Regions from separate parts of the Homo sapiens genome. Here region 2 is linked to region 1. Evidence: promoter capture Hi-C in 16 types of primary human blood cells and fetal thymus (Javierre and others, 2016). All regions are on one chromosome and are shown on one strand. The core of a region is centred on a gene start or on the middle of the fragment in contact, and the rest is flanking DNA. Distances in the headings are between cores, read along the strand shown. Region 1 holds the start of INO80C (INO80 complex subunit C). Region 2 overlaps GALNT1 (polypeptide N-acetylgalactosaminyltransferase 1).

Evidence for each region. The method cuts DNA at HindIII sites, captures the fragments that hold promoters and counts their contacts. A CHiCAGO score of 5 or more calls a contact.
Region 2: a fragment that was not itself captured here is called in contact with the fragment with the promoter of INO80C in region 1 in 1 of 17 cell types (M1 macrophages); the score reaches 5.3 in M1 macrophages.

Annotation. Positions count from the first base shown.
Region 1 is chr18:35,493,850-35,501,243 of GRCh38, forward strand. INO80C (INO80 complex subunit C) reads right to left here and starts at 4,111. Exons shown (of 5, transcript NM_194281.4): 1 at 3,870-4,111. The coding sequence starts at 4,025. RefSeq lists enhancers at 3,129-3,278, 3,549-3,668, 4,019-4,288. The HindIII fragment of the contact is 4,638 bases long and covers 1,765-6,402 here.
Region 2 is chr18:35,643,871-35,650,810 of GRCh38, forward strand. All of the region lies in intron 1 of GALNT1 (polypeptide N-acetylgalactosaminyltransferase 1), which reads left to right. Among named protein-coding and RNA genes, the nearest start is that of MIR3975, 56 kb to the left of the region's middle. The HindIII fragment of the contact is 1,930 bases long and covers 1,939-3,868 here.

The sequences.
Region 1 (7,394 bases), core at 2,861-5,360:
TACTTAAGAATCAAAATAGCTAAAATTACTGACGTAGGGAAATTTACGTGATGAAAGACCTATAAAATCTCCTCTAACTCAAGAAATACAATCATTTATAGAAAAACACTCACTTCCCCACTAAGGGAACCTTGGGCAACCTGGGTTAATCTCACAATGAGCACAGCTCTGAACCTGGAATGCCTTCTCCAGCAAACCTCTCCAAGCCAACTTCAAGTCCCTCTGCCTCCCTACCTCTCCTTTGAGTACCATCACCAGCACTGAGGAATCATCCTCCTGTGTCTCACCACAATAGGGCACCAACACCTATAATTACCTATAATTAGCTTTGGCTCAAGGTTAGACATTACTATATCTTCCTAATGGTTTCATTTGTGTGATAGGTAGAATTCCAGTACACCCCTGCTACCTTGCAAGTACTCTGCCCCTGGTGTGCACACAATTTCTCCGAGTTATTCAAGCAGACACTAATCTAGGTGCAGCTACAAAGGGGTTTTGCAGATGTAATTAAGGTCTCAAATCAGCTGACTTTTAAAAAAGGTGATTATCCAAGTAGGCCTGCCTAATCACATAAATCTTTTAAATCTGAGTCCAGGGGTCAGCAATAAAAGAAGTCTGAAATATCTGAAGCATGAGAAGAATTGGACACAAGGGAGATTCTCCATAGCTGGCTCTGAAAATGGAAAACGCCATGTGGCAAGGAACACGGGCAGCAGCTGACAGCCAGCAAGAAGACAGGGGCCCTGCAGTCCTGCCGCCCCAAAAGAACAGAATTCTGCCAACAACCTGAATTCACCTGCATGCAAATTTCTCCCCAGAGCCTTCAGACAAGAACTCGGCTAACACTTTGATTTCAGCTTTGTGATACCCAGAGCAGAGAGTCAACCCAGTTGCATTGTGTCAGGACTTCTGACCTACAGAACCATGAGCTACTAAATGAGTGTTATTTAAGCCACTAAATTTGTGATAATTTGTAATGACAGCAGTAGAAAACTAAACACAATGTATATACGTCATTCTCTCCTGGGATGTTTTTGGTAGTGTGGGGACAAGCTATAATCCTTTGAAATGTCTTAAGCATACTGCTGGGGATGGAACAGAAACAGTACAATAAATTACTGCTACATGAACTGAACTGAAACAGAACAGAAAGGTTGGGCAAGTGACACAGATGAGGGTGACCTCAAGAAGATTCCTGGCAGCCCTCAGGGGTACTGTGCTTATGCCTGCTTATTTCCTATACGCTGTGAAAAGGGAACTAGAATGAAAGGATCACAGCAAGGCAAAAATCTAAGACAACCGGGCACAGTGGCTCATGCCTGTAATCCCTAAACTTTGGGAGGCCAATGTGGGCAGATTGCTTGACCCCAGGAGTTTGAGACGAGCTTGGGTTATGTGGTGAAATTCCACCTCTACCAAAAATACAATGGTGGCATGCACCTGTCGTCCCAGCTACTTGGGAGGCTGAGGTGGGAGGATCCACTGAGCCAGGAGGTCGAGGCTGCAGTGAGCCATGATTGTGCCACTGTCCTCCAGCCTGGGTGACAGAAGAAGACCCTGTCTTCTTTAGTAAATATCAGTTGGGAAAAGGAGAGTCAGGACAAAAGAAGGCACTATTTCATGAAATGCTCTGCCCTTTCCAGCTTCTCCTGAGGCTGCTGCTTGGATACAAAAAAGGCCCAGAGGGAATAGAGAGTTAAGATTTCCACCATATTGGATTACTGGGAATTTCCAGTCTCCTGAAGGCATTTGACCACTTTCAGAAGCTTGTGGTAGTGGAAGTTGATCAACAATCCCTTTGGGGTCAAAACAATTATTCCTACCCATATGTCCTAGTGACACTCCTTGGTCCTGGCACAACTGGTTATCAAAACGCACCAGTCGCAGGCTGGGAGCAATTACTCACAATACATACATCTGGCAAAGGAGTCTAATCAAGAAAGATAATGTAATGAACTTCTACACATCAATATAATTTTTTTTTAAAAGCCAATTAGAAAAAAATAATTAGGCACTCCACAAAAGATCTGGAATGTCCAACAAGCTCATGAAAAGTGATTGATATCATTAGCCATCAGAGAAACAAATTAAAACAAGGAGATACTACTACACACTCAACAAAATGGCTAAAAGTTAAAGACTGACAATGAAAGACTGACAATACTCTGTATTGTTGAGGATTTCGAGCAACTGGCACTCTCATACTTTGCCGGTAAGAATGCAAAAACAGTGCAACTACTTTGAGAAATACTGTTTAACAGTTACTGAGTTAAATGTATGCCTACCTTCTGACTCAGCAATTCCACTACTTCTCAAGAGAAATGAAAGCATCTATCTACACAAAGACTTGTACAAGAATGTTCAGAGCAGCTTCTGCACAAAGCCAAAAACTGTAAACGTTCAAATATTCATCGGGTGTATGTTTATACAATGCAACAGATGTACTAAACGACTCTCAAAAACATTGTCTCAAAAAGGAACCTAGACAGATGCAAAAGAATATGTTCCCTATTGTCCTGTATTATTCCATTTATATTATGTTCCAACCCAAAGTCAGTCTATTGTGAAGGGTGGCTGAACAGTGGGTAACTGTTAGGAAGGAAAGACAGTACTGACAGGAAAATGTCACCTGCTCTTAGAAATGCTATCTTGATCCAGGCAGTGGCCATAGGTGTATACAAATGTAAAAGGGCACTGGATCTGTAGTTTTGTTTTGTTTTGTTTTGTTTGCGATAGGCTCACTCTGTTGCCCAAGCTGGACTGCAATGGCACGATCATAGCTCGCTGTAACCTTGAAATCTTGGGCTTAAGTGATGCTCTTGTAGTTGGGACTAAAGGCGTGCACCATCACGCCCAGCTATTTGTAAATTTGGATGGGGGTTGGGGAGCAGGTCTCGAACTCCTGTCCTCAAGCAATCCTCTCACCTTGGCCTCTCAAAGTGCTGGGATACAGGCGTGAGACAGGATTCTTGAAGATCTGTGGTTCAGCCAGTATTCTTGAAAATTTGTGCATTGTACTCTGTGTAAATCTTACTATAGCAAAGTATTTAATATTAAAAGGTTAAAATAAAAAGCACTACCAATCACCTACAGAAGAAGGAACAAGATTTCTAGAACAGCCACTGACTGACTGGGTGAACGGTGGTGTCACACCATATGCTGAGGAGCACAAAGTAACACACTCTATCTCTGCTTTTTTGCTTTGAATAAAATGCAGGAGCCAGAGAAAACACTAATCAAGCCACTCCCTGCTGAAAATTCATTGCTGGAATTACGGAACCTAGATTGTTCAGAGGCCCTGACGTCTGAGCCAGGCGCTGAGCTCAGTGCCTTTACACTCATTACTTCATAACCTTAACAAGCCCATGAGTTAAGACCAAACCTGCCTTTGGATTGGGAAACCCAGGGTCAAAAAAGCACTTTTCTCAGGATGAGAGAAAGCATACTTATCAATACATCTTGTATTCATCCATGCAGGACATTACAGCGCTATGCGCCTCAAAGACACTGGGTAGATGTCTGCAGAATGGACGAGGGGAAGACACGCAAATTTCTGAATGACTGACACTCATTAGTCCTGAACCTCATGCTAAAGGCGACCTCGAGGGGAAGAGGCAGTCCTTCTATTAATACTAAGTCAGTAATAACCTCCCTACTTCTTCTTCTCTCCTTACAACACAAGGCGTTGTAAGCCCATGTGTCCAAACGAAGGGAAAGAGTAGTCATTCACTCCGCGGGGCAGCGTCTTTCAACCCCAACGGAGACCGCACGCGCAGCGCCCCACATTACGCACGCGCCCTGGCTCGGCTCCGCCCCGCCAAGTCCCGTTTCGCGACGCGCACGCGCAGCCTGGGAGCGCGACTGCGTACCTGCGCAAAGCTGGAAGCGGACGCTTTTTTCTTCTTACTGGCGCCATAGCCCCCGCCGCTGCTGCCATTGTGGGAAGGGCTGGCCGGCCTCTTCTTGCTGTTCCGGACTATTCCGGGAGTGGAAGTGGTGGCCACAATTGGAATTTGCGCCGCCATCGCACTCCGAGTCTTCCCCTGGTCCCCCCACCTTTTTCCCAGCGCGGGCCTTGGAACTTCCTTTCCGCTGTTACTTCCGTCTTGATGCTTGAAAACCCGGCCTGGACTCCAAGCTGTAGCTGGCTTCTCTCGGTGCAATCTAAAAGGCGGAGCTCGGAGTAGCCTGTGCCGTCGGGACGGGAAGATGTCAGCGGGCGTTGTCCTGCCACTCGGGCGCTCTGGGCGTGGGCCTTGGGTGGGGCACGTGCCTGGAAATCCCCATTGATAGAGGAATAGAAAATCTCCCAATCTTTTTAAGTAACTACGTTTTAAAAAATTAATGAGCGTGTTGTCTTTTCTCATATAGAAGAGTGATTACTTTTGATGTCTGTAAGCCTAAAGCTGGGGTCGTTCTCAGTAGACCGCCAAGCTACTGGCTTCTCCCTCTATCCCTCCCTGCCTTCCCACGCGGAAAAGGTTTGTATATAAATAGCGCCCAAATGGACATGAAGGGTAGAGTGGTTCTTAATCTCTCCCTTTTTTTTTTTCTTTTATTTGAGACGGAGTTTCGCTCTTGTTGTCCAGGCTGGAGTGCAATGGCGCGATCTCGGCTCACTGCAAACTCCGCCTCCCGGGTTCAAGCGATTCTCCTGCCTCAGCCTCCCGAGTAGCTGGGATCACAGGCATGTGCCACCATGCCCGGCTAATTTTGTATTTTTAGTAGAGACGGGGTTTCTCCATGTTGGTCAGGCTGGTCTCGAGCTCCCGACCTCAGGTGATCTGCCCGCCTCGGCCTCCCTAAGTGCTGGGATTACAGGCGTAAGCCACCACGCCCGGCCGGTTCTTAATCTCTTAGGATTCACAGACTCTTGAGCATGGAATCTGTGCTTCCTATCCCTGCCGCACACCCCCACCTCCCCACCACCCCATTAAATGTATACAGACACAGACAAAATTTTACAGATTTCAGGGAGGTCACAGATCTACTAAAACCTATTTAGGAACCTGAGTCCCCCTACCCGCCTTGTTCTTTGCCTCATTCTACCCTATATTTTTACAGAACCTTTGCGACATCATATAACTAAATGATTTATAATCGGATGGTTAATGTCTTTTTTGGCTCCTGCTAGAATGTAATCTGTATGAGGGAAGGGTCAGTTATGTCTTGTTAACTTATCAGTCCCCCCAATCACAGTACCTTGCAAGTCATTGGTGCATTATAAGTATTTTTAATGATGTATTTAACGAATGAACTAACTCCCTGCAGTGATTGGTGGAAGCTACTATGTTTGAATACAGGAAGTTGATGTATATGAGTCTTGATATTTGAAATAAACAGGCTGCACAATGACTTAGAGGTGAGAGAGAAGGAGCAGTTAGGGAAACTTGCAATATTGTTACTGACATATTTTTTCCTTTAGAGAAAGGAATAAGCCTACCAGTGTTGAAATGTTCTTTCCCACACCCCATCTCCATCCCTATCCTCATCTAAAGCTAGTCTTTTCCTCATTCCTTAACTCAAGGACTCACCTCCAACAAGCCAGTCACCTAAGCAAACTCTACTGTCCCCACCTCCTCCCATTCCTCACCTCCTCAGCTCGCTTCTCTCCTTCACGGCTCCTGCCCTGGTGAATCTGTATCCCATGTCTACATCTCAGCAACAGCCTCCAGATGGACGTTTCGGCCGCCATCTTTCCCTTATCCATTCCTGACCCCAGACCATCCTTCACACTGGCTGCCAGAATGGGATTTCTAAATTACAAATATAATCATACCACTTACTTTCTTACATTCTTCAGGGCCCTTTTGCCTTCAGGGTAAAATTTTTTTTTTACCTTCAGGGTAAGAACGTTTTGGCTTGTCATACAAGGTCCTTAATGACTGGGCTCTGGGCCGGGCGCGGTGGCTCACACCTGTAATCCCAACACTTTGAGAGGCTGAGGCGGGCAGATCACAAGGTCAGGAGATAAAGGCCATCCTGTCCAACACGGTGAAACCTCGTCTCTACTAAAAATACAAAAATTAGCTGAGTATGGTGGCATGCGCCTGTAATCCCAGCTACTCAGAAGGCTGAGGCAGGAGAATCGCTTGAACCCGGGAGATTGCAGTGAGCAGAGATCGTGCCACTGCACTCCAGCCTGGCAACAGAGCAAGACTCCGCCTCAAAACGACAACAACAACAACAACAACAACAACTGGGCTGTGCCCCATTCTGTTGCTTGGTTCCCAACACTTAATTCCTTGTGTTCCAGCCAAGGACTAACTCTATTTCCTAGAATGTATATGTTTTCTTAGCTTGTCATATTTTTGTTTCTATTATTTCCTCTCCTGGGAATGCTTAGCTCCTTGCCTGATTACCATCCATTTTGCCTCAGTTCAGATGCTACTTCCAATGAAAAGCTTTCTGCCATCTGACACACCTTCCTTCCCCTTCCCTTTCCCTGTCCTCACGCTGTGCACGTGAGCACAGGGGGACCTGCTGGGCTGCTTCCTGTCATCCCTTATTGAGTTCAAACACCAACTCCCTACTTTTAAGGAGTCAGACAAGTGGATGCACCGCCATCTGGTTTCCTGTTACTAAATTCAGGCCTGATCTTGTCTGATTCCTTTCTTTCTGAAATTCTTCCCTTGGTATCTGAAACATCACCATCTTTTTGTTTTCCTCTTTCCTGGCCAGTCTTCTGTTACCAAATGGTCTCTAATGCTACTACAGGTTTTTCAAAATATATAGTCACATGCTCCTGTAGATTCACATTTTAAAAGTTTCCCAAGTGATTCTAATGATCAGCCAGGTTTGAAACCAGACTCTTGCACAGAATCCTTACATATTGAGAGTTCCTTGGTGCTTGGTCCAAGGCCCTCTGCTCTTCTCAGTTGATACTCTCCCCAGCCATTGCACCATTTCTTGCGGATTCAGTTACCACCTAAATGCAGACCACTTTCAGATTTGCATCCTTTATCTGGCTCTTTCTCCAAAGATGCATACCCAAGGCCAGGTATGGTGGCTCATGTCTGTAATCCCAACACTTTGGGAAGCCGAGGCGAGTGGATCACTTGAGGTCAGGAGTTCAAGTCCAGCCTGGCCAACATGGGTGAAACCTCGTCTCTACTAAAAAAATACAAAAATTAGCCAAGCATGGTGGGGCCTGCCTGTAGCCCCAGCTACTTGGGAGACTGAGGCACAAGAATCACTTGAACTCGGAGGGTGGAGGTTTCAGTGAGCCTGGGCGACAGAGGAAGACTCCGTCTCAAAAAAAAAAAAAAAAAAGCATACCTGGACGTAAAATTCCTTTCCCTAGTATAAACTCAGATGCTTACACGCATCTTTCACTCCGCATGGCAAAAACAGAATTCATCATCCTCTCTGCTCCTCTAAAACAGATTCCTCCT
Region 2 (6,940 bases), core at 1,654-4,153, 150 kb after region 1:
CATTGGGATGCAAATTTGTAGGGAGTTTGTATCTTTTGCTTTTCTGTTTGCCAGGTTCTTTGTTTTGAACATACATTACTTTACAAACAGGAAAAATATAAACTTTTAAAGGTATTGGTGGAAGTCAGTTTGTCATCTTAAAAACTGACATTCCACTCAAGACACTAAACACTGTATTCTCTAATTTGAAACATTCGAGCCAATAAATTTTATAGGAGTTTATTTACATCATGACTACCCCAAATGATAAGCTTGTTCTTCTGACCTCTAAACTTGAGATAACACCCGGGAAATAACTACAGAAAGAGAATATCCAGGTTTTAATGGAATGTGGACATCAATCTGGGCAGGAATTTTGGATTGATTATTTGCTAATTTTTTGTTAAATACTTATGTTGAATAAGAAGATTCCAAGACCTGAAAATTGGTTCTCCTTTTTCTTTGGCTATCGAATAAGGCTTCTCAGTGCTAAATTTCGATCAGTAACCACTTGACAGCTCAAAAACTGTGGCAGAAGTATTGGCCTGAACACTTTATAGGAAGCTGGGAATATAAATTGAAGCCTACGAGACTGGAGCCGTACTCACTTTGGCTACTAGGGGTAAGCCAGAATAGCTGCTACTTGGTTTTGACAATTTTGGCTTCAGTTATCTTTCTACATATTCACTTTTATATTGCTATAAGGTAGGATCCAAGTTTATTTTTTAATTATATGGAAAGCCACTTGTCCCTGCACCAATTTTCTTTGTAGTAGCATCTTTTTAGTTTTTCACACTTGTATGGATTTGTTTTGGGTTACCATATGGTTTTAAGTACGTCTGCTTTATAATTCAGTCCAGGCCAGGCGTGGTGACTCACACCAGTAATCCCAGCACTTTGGGAGGCTGAGGCGGGCGTATCACTTCAGGTGACGCGTTTGAGACCAGCCTGGTCAACATGATGAAACCTCTTCTCTACTAAAAATACAAAAATTAGCTAGGCATGGTGGCATGCACCTGTAGACCCAGCTACTTGGGAGGCTAAGGCAGGATAATTGCTTGAACCCAGGTGGCAAAGGTTGCAGTGAGCCAGGATCACACCACTGCACTCCGGCCTGGGTGACAGAGCAAGACTCTGTCTCAAAATAAATAAATAAGTAAATGAATAAATAAATAAATAAATCCATTCCCCAAAGCCTCATTTGGGTTTTGATAAGAATTATATTGAATTTATAGATTAATTTTGGGAATAACCTTGTATTCATTTTCTCATCTATTCATTAGTTAGTTATTCTTTTGTATCCTTCAATAAAGCTCCACAGTTTTCTTCACCTCTTGCACCTGTTGGGTTTTCATAGCTATTTTGAATGTTTTTTTTTTTTTTTTTTTTTTTTTTCTGGGAGATGGAGTCTCGCTCTGTTGCCCAGGCTGGAGTGCAGTGGCGCAATCTCAGCTCACTGCAAGTTCTGCCTCCCAGGTCACACCATTCTCCTGCCTCAGCCTCCTTCCCAAGTAGCTGAGACTACAGGCGCCCGCCACCATGCCCGGCTAATTTTTTGTATTTTTAGTAGAGACGGGGTTTCACCGTGTTAGCCAGGATGGTCTCGATCTCCTGACCTCCTGATCCGCCCGTGGCCTCCCAAAGTGCTGGGATTATAGGCGTGAGCTGCCGCACCTGGCCGGTTTATTTTATATATTCTAAATAGTTATAACTACCATATAGGAGCACGACTGATGTTATATGTTCATCTGTAGTCATCTGCCTTATGAAATCAATAATTAGCTCTAATGGTTTATCTTTTGATTCTTAAATAATTTCTATGTAGAAATCATACCATCTGCAGATGATAATTTTGTTTTTTTCCCCCTAATCCTTAATTCATTTTCTTATCTGTTGCTTGGACCTTCAGTACAGTGTCAGACTGAAGTGAGGATACATAACTTGCCTTATTTTAACTGAAGCTTCATCATTAAATATGATGTTTATTGTAGATTAAAGAATTCCCTTTCTAGTTCTAGTTTGCTGTTGAAGTTTTCGGTTGCTGAGTAATGAATTACCTAAAAATTTAATGGCTTTAAGCAATGAAGTTATTATCTCATATTTTCTTTGGGTCAGGAATGGAAGAGCAGTGTATTAGTTCATTTTTACACTGCTATGAAGAACTACCTGAGACTCGATAATTTATGAAGAAAAGGGGCTTAATTGACTCACAGTTCCACGGGCTTACCAGGAAGCATGACTAGGAGGCCTCAGGAAACTTACAATCATGGCAGAAGGTGAAGGGGAAGCAAGCATGTCTTACCATGGAGGAGCAGGAGAGAGAAAGAGGTGGGGGAAGTGCCACACATTTGTAAACCATCAGATCTCCTAAGAACTCACTCACTATCCCGAGAACAGCAAGGGGGAAATCTGCCCCCATGATCCTTTTACCTCCCACCAGGTCCCTTCCCCAATACTGGGGATTACCATTCAACATGAGATTTGGGTGGGGACACCGAGCCAAACTATATCAAGCATCTTAGCAGGATATTGGCTCAGGATCTTTCATGAGGTTGTACTCAAGATGTCAGCTGGAGCTGCCGTCATCTGAAGGCTTGCCTGGGGCTGCTTTCAAGGGGGTCTCACTTTCATGCCTGGCAGCATAATGTTGGTTGTAAGCAGGAGGCTTCAGTTTCTTACTATGTGGACCTCTGCATAGGAATGCTTAAGCATCCTTCTGACATGGCACTGGCCTTCCCCAGAGTGTGATCAGAGAGAGTGCTGGGGGAGGCCATAGAGTGTTTAATGACTCAGTCTTCACTTCCATCATATTCTGTTGGTTAGAAGCAAGTCACTAAGTCCAGCCCACACTCTAGGAGGAAGTTAAATGATACAAAAAGTATTTTGTGTGTTTCTTTTAGTCTGTCTGCCCTACAGAGTAGCATAAGTCAAGGGCTTCTGTCTGGATATCTTTACCTCAGGCCTCTCCTTTGAGCCCTGTGTATATCCAAGCAGCCATGGTAGCATCTCTCATTGAAGGTTCAAAGGCACCTCATACTCAACATGTCCCAAATCACACTTAACGTTTCTTCCCATCTTCTCCTCCCCTCCAAAAATTGGTCCTTTTTCACTGGTCCCCATTTCCATGATTGACACCTTTCTCTGTCCAGCTGTACAAGCTAGGATTGAGTTTGTCCCATCGTATCTCTTGTATCTTCCCACTTTTATCATCTCCAGCTTCATCTCACATCACAGTTTCCTTTTCTTTTTCTTCAGTTCACTAGCTTTTCAGTGTTGGGCTCCTTTCTGCTGTAGAGCCTTTACTATTCACTGCCTGTAATGCTTATTTTCCCTCAAACCATGTCTTTCTTAGGGAAGCCTTTTTGACAAAGTCAAATCTATTATAGATGTGTGTAGAGCTGTGTACCTTCTTTCAAAGCAGTTATCACAATTGGAATTTCACATTTATATGATTATTAACGTCTGCTTCCCTGGAGCCAACTCTGAACTTCATAAAGTCAGGGAGTGTGTGCATTTTGTTCACCCTTGTATTCCCTGCATTTGACACATTCCCTACATTTACTGTTTGGGTGACTGAATGAGTTAATAAGTGAATTAATACATTGATTATAGTTCTGTTTGAGAAATAGAGCAAATAGAATATAAAATTAATAAAATAATCTAGGCTCTTTTATTTGTATTGGAGGATAACACTTGTCTTTTTTAAGTCTTTTAGTTTTCTTGGCAGAAACTCTAGCTGTTAATTAAATAAATAGATTTGTCGAAGGTTCTCATATGTAATACCTCTGTCTGGTTAGTATGATGTAAAACTAGTGATCCTGGCTGTGGGTGGCTGGGAGACTGCTGTGTTCTCAGGAGAGAGGAGTAAAGCTAGGATCCAAGAGAATGAAGCTTTGTTTTCTCAGAAAGTTACTATCCAGCTGAGATTCTCTCAAACTTTCTGGAGAGCTTTGGTTAGAAATATGAGGGGTAGGAGAAAATCATTTGGCCGTAGAAAATACTGATTAATCTTTGGGAAAATTTGGCATGTGATATTAAGAATAGGATCAGGGTTAGGCGTGGTGGTGCGTGCCTGTAATCCCAGCAGTTTGGGAGGCCGTGGTGGGTGGATCACTTGAGACCAGGAATTCAAGACCAGCCTGGGTACAAAGTGAGAACCTGTCAAAAACAAAAAGAGAAGAAGAAGAAGAAGAAGAAGAAGGAAGGGAGGAAGTGAGGAAGGGAGGAAGTGAGGAAGGGTGGAAGGGAGGGAGGAAAGGAGGGAAGGAAAGAGGGAGGGAAGGAAGGAAGGGAGGGAGGGAGGGAGAGAGGATTGGATCAGAAGTTTACTGATATGCAAATGGGCCCTGACTTAAGATTTTTTGACTTTGTGAGAGTGTAAAACCATCACAATTTATGTGTAAGTATGGTATTCAGTAAATTGCATAAGATATTCAACACTTTATTGTAAAATAAGCTTTGTGTTAGATGATTTTGCACAACTATATGCTAATGCAAGTGTTCTGAGCACATTTAAGGTAGGCTAGGCTAAGCTATAATGTTCTGTTGGTTAGTTGTATTAAAGGCATTTTCGACTTTCGACTTAAGATGTTTTCAACTTATGATGGGTTTATTGGTACATTACCCCATCATAAGTCGAGAAGCATCTGTAATTAATCACTATACTTTGATATTAACTCTAATTTTATAACTTTAAAAATAAGTAGTTAAATGCATTTCAAATGGAAGGTTTTAACTTATGTGGTTGGGACAAAATAAGCAACTTTTAGTTACTTCCAAAATGAATTCTGGTATGTGTCTTTTGAGAAAACATAAAACAGTTTCTCTCTTTGTAAAACTGGCATTGTTTCTTTGAGGTATCCTCTCCCCCATGTTTGTTTATTTTTAAGTTGATTGAGATTGAATTTATATACAGTAAAATTCATCATTTTAGGTTCAGTTGTATAAGTTTATACAGTGGACACAGTTGTATGACCCCCAGCCCAAGAAAGTTATGGAATGTTTTCATTGCCACAGATTCATTTATGGGCAATCCCCTATTCCTTTTTCAGCCCTTGGCAGCCGCTGATCTGATTTATTGCTGGTTGCTGGGTGGTGTTTCATTGTATAAATATAGTGCAATTTGTTTATCCATTCATCAGATGATTGACATTTGGATTGTTTCCAGATATTGATGATTATAAGTAGGCTGCTATAAAGATGTGCATACAGGGCTGTGTGCAGATATGTTTTCCTTTCTCCTGAATAAATAGGAACGGGATTACAGATTCTTGTGGGGAGAAACTCCCCTGTTTTCCAGAGAGGCTGTACCATTTTGCATTCCCACTGGCACCGTATTAGAGTTCCAGTTGCTCCAATTCCTTTCCAGCACTTGTTGTTTTTCTTTTTTCTTTTAGCTGTTTTAATCAGTTCATAGTGGTGTTTCATTGTGGTTTTAATTTAATGTTGAATTTCTTTTCATGTACTCATTTGCCATCTGAAAAAAGTGTTTGGCTTTTTTGGTAAAGTGACAATTCAGACCTTCTGCCTATTTTATTGGATTGTTTGTTTTCTTACTGTGTTTTGAAAGTTTTTTATATATTCCGGATACTAGTCGTCTATCAGATATGTGACTTATAAATATTTTCTCCCAAATTTGTGACTTGCTCTTTATTTTCTTTCAAAGAAAAATTGGAAGTTTTAGCTTAATCAATAAAGGTGTATCACCTGAGTATAAACAGATATTTTCTTAATGGTGTCTTTTGAAGATTAGTTAGGAAGTCCAGTTTATTTTTTTTAATGGTTTGTGCTTTTTTGTTCTATCTAGGGAATCTTTGCCTAAGGTCTCAGGGTCTCAAAAGATTTTATTCTGTTTTATTCCAGATCTAGTTCAAAAATTTGAGTTAATATTTGTATGTGGTATAGGATATGGGCCAATATTTGTGTTTTTATTGTATATGGATATCTAATTGTTCTGGGACTGTTGAAAAAACTGTTATTTCTCCATAACAATGGACTGTATATGTGTGGATCTGTTGTAGAGAGCAGGGCTTGGCTTAGTGCTAAGGTTAGCACTCACTGGTGCACTGTTGTCACCAATAATGTTGTCTGTTGTGACAGACAGTGCCTTTGCTGTGCCGAAGATTCCCAGATGATGTTGTTAGTCTTTTCCTCTTAGAAGAGTGGGCAGTTGCTCAGGTGAAGGCAACACCAGCAGCCTCTGGAAAATGTGGGATGTTTGTTCTTTAAACTTTATCAGAGGAACACAGCCCTGATATTCATGTGGGCCCTTTTCTATTTTCCCTAAGTGTCCTCCGGTCTGAGAAATAAACGGAGAGAGTACAAAAGAGAAATTTTAAAGCTGGGAGTCTGGGGGAGACATCACGTCAGCAGGTTCCGTGATGCCCCCGAGCCGTAAAACCAGCAAGTTTTTATTAGTGATTTCCAAAAGGGGAGGGAGTGTACGAATAGGGTGTGGGTCACAGAGTTCACATGCTTCACAAGGTATTAAAAAATATCACAAGGCAAATGGAGGCAGGGCGAGATCACAGGATCGTGGCGAAATTAAAATTGCTAATGAAGTTTTGGGCACACATTGTCATTGATAACATCTTATCAGGAGACAGGGTTTGAGAGCAGACAACCGGTCTGATCAAAATTTACTAGGCGGGAATTTCCTCGTCCTAATAAGCCTGGGAGTGCTACGGGAGACCGGGGCTTATTTCATCCCTTATCTACAACCATAAAAGACAGACGTTCCCAAAGCGGCCATTTCAGAGACCCCTTGGGAAACCATTCTCTTTCTCAGGGATGGTCCTTGCTGAGAGAAAGAATTCAGCAATATTTCTCCTATTTGCTTTTGAAAGAGAGAAATATGGCTCTGTTCCGCCCGGCCCACAGGCAGCCAGACTTTAAGGTTATCTTCCTTGTTCCCTGAACATCACTGTTACTCTGTTCTTTTTTCAAGGTGCCCAGATTTCAT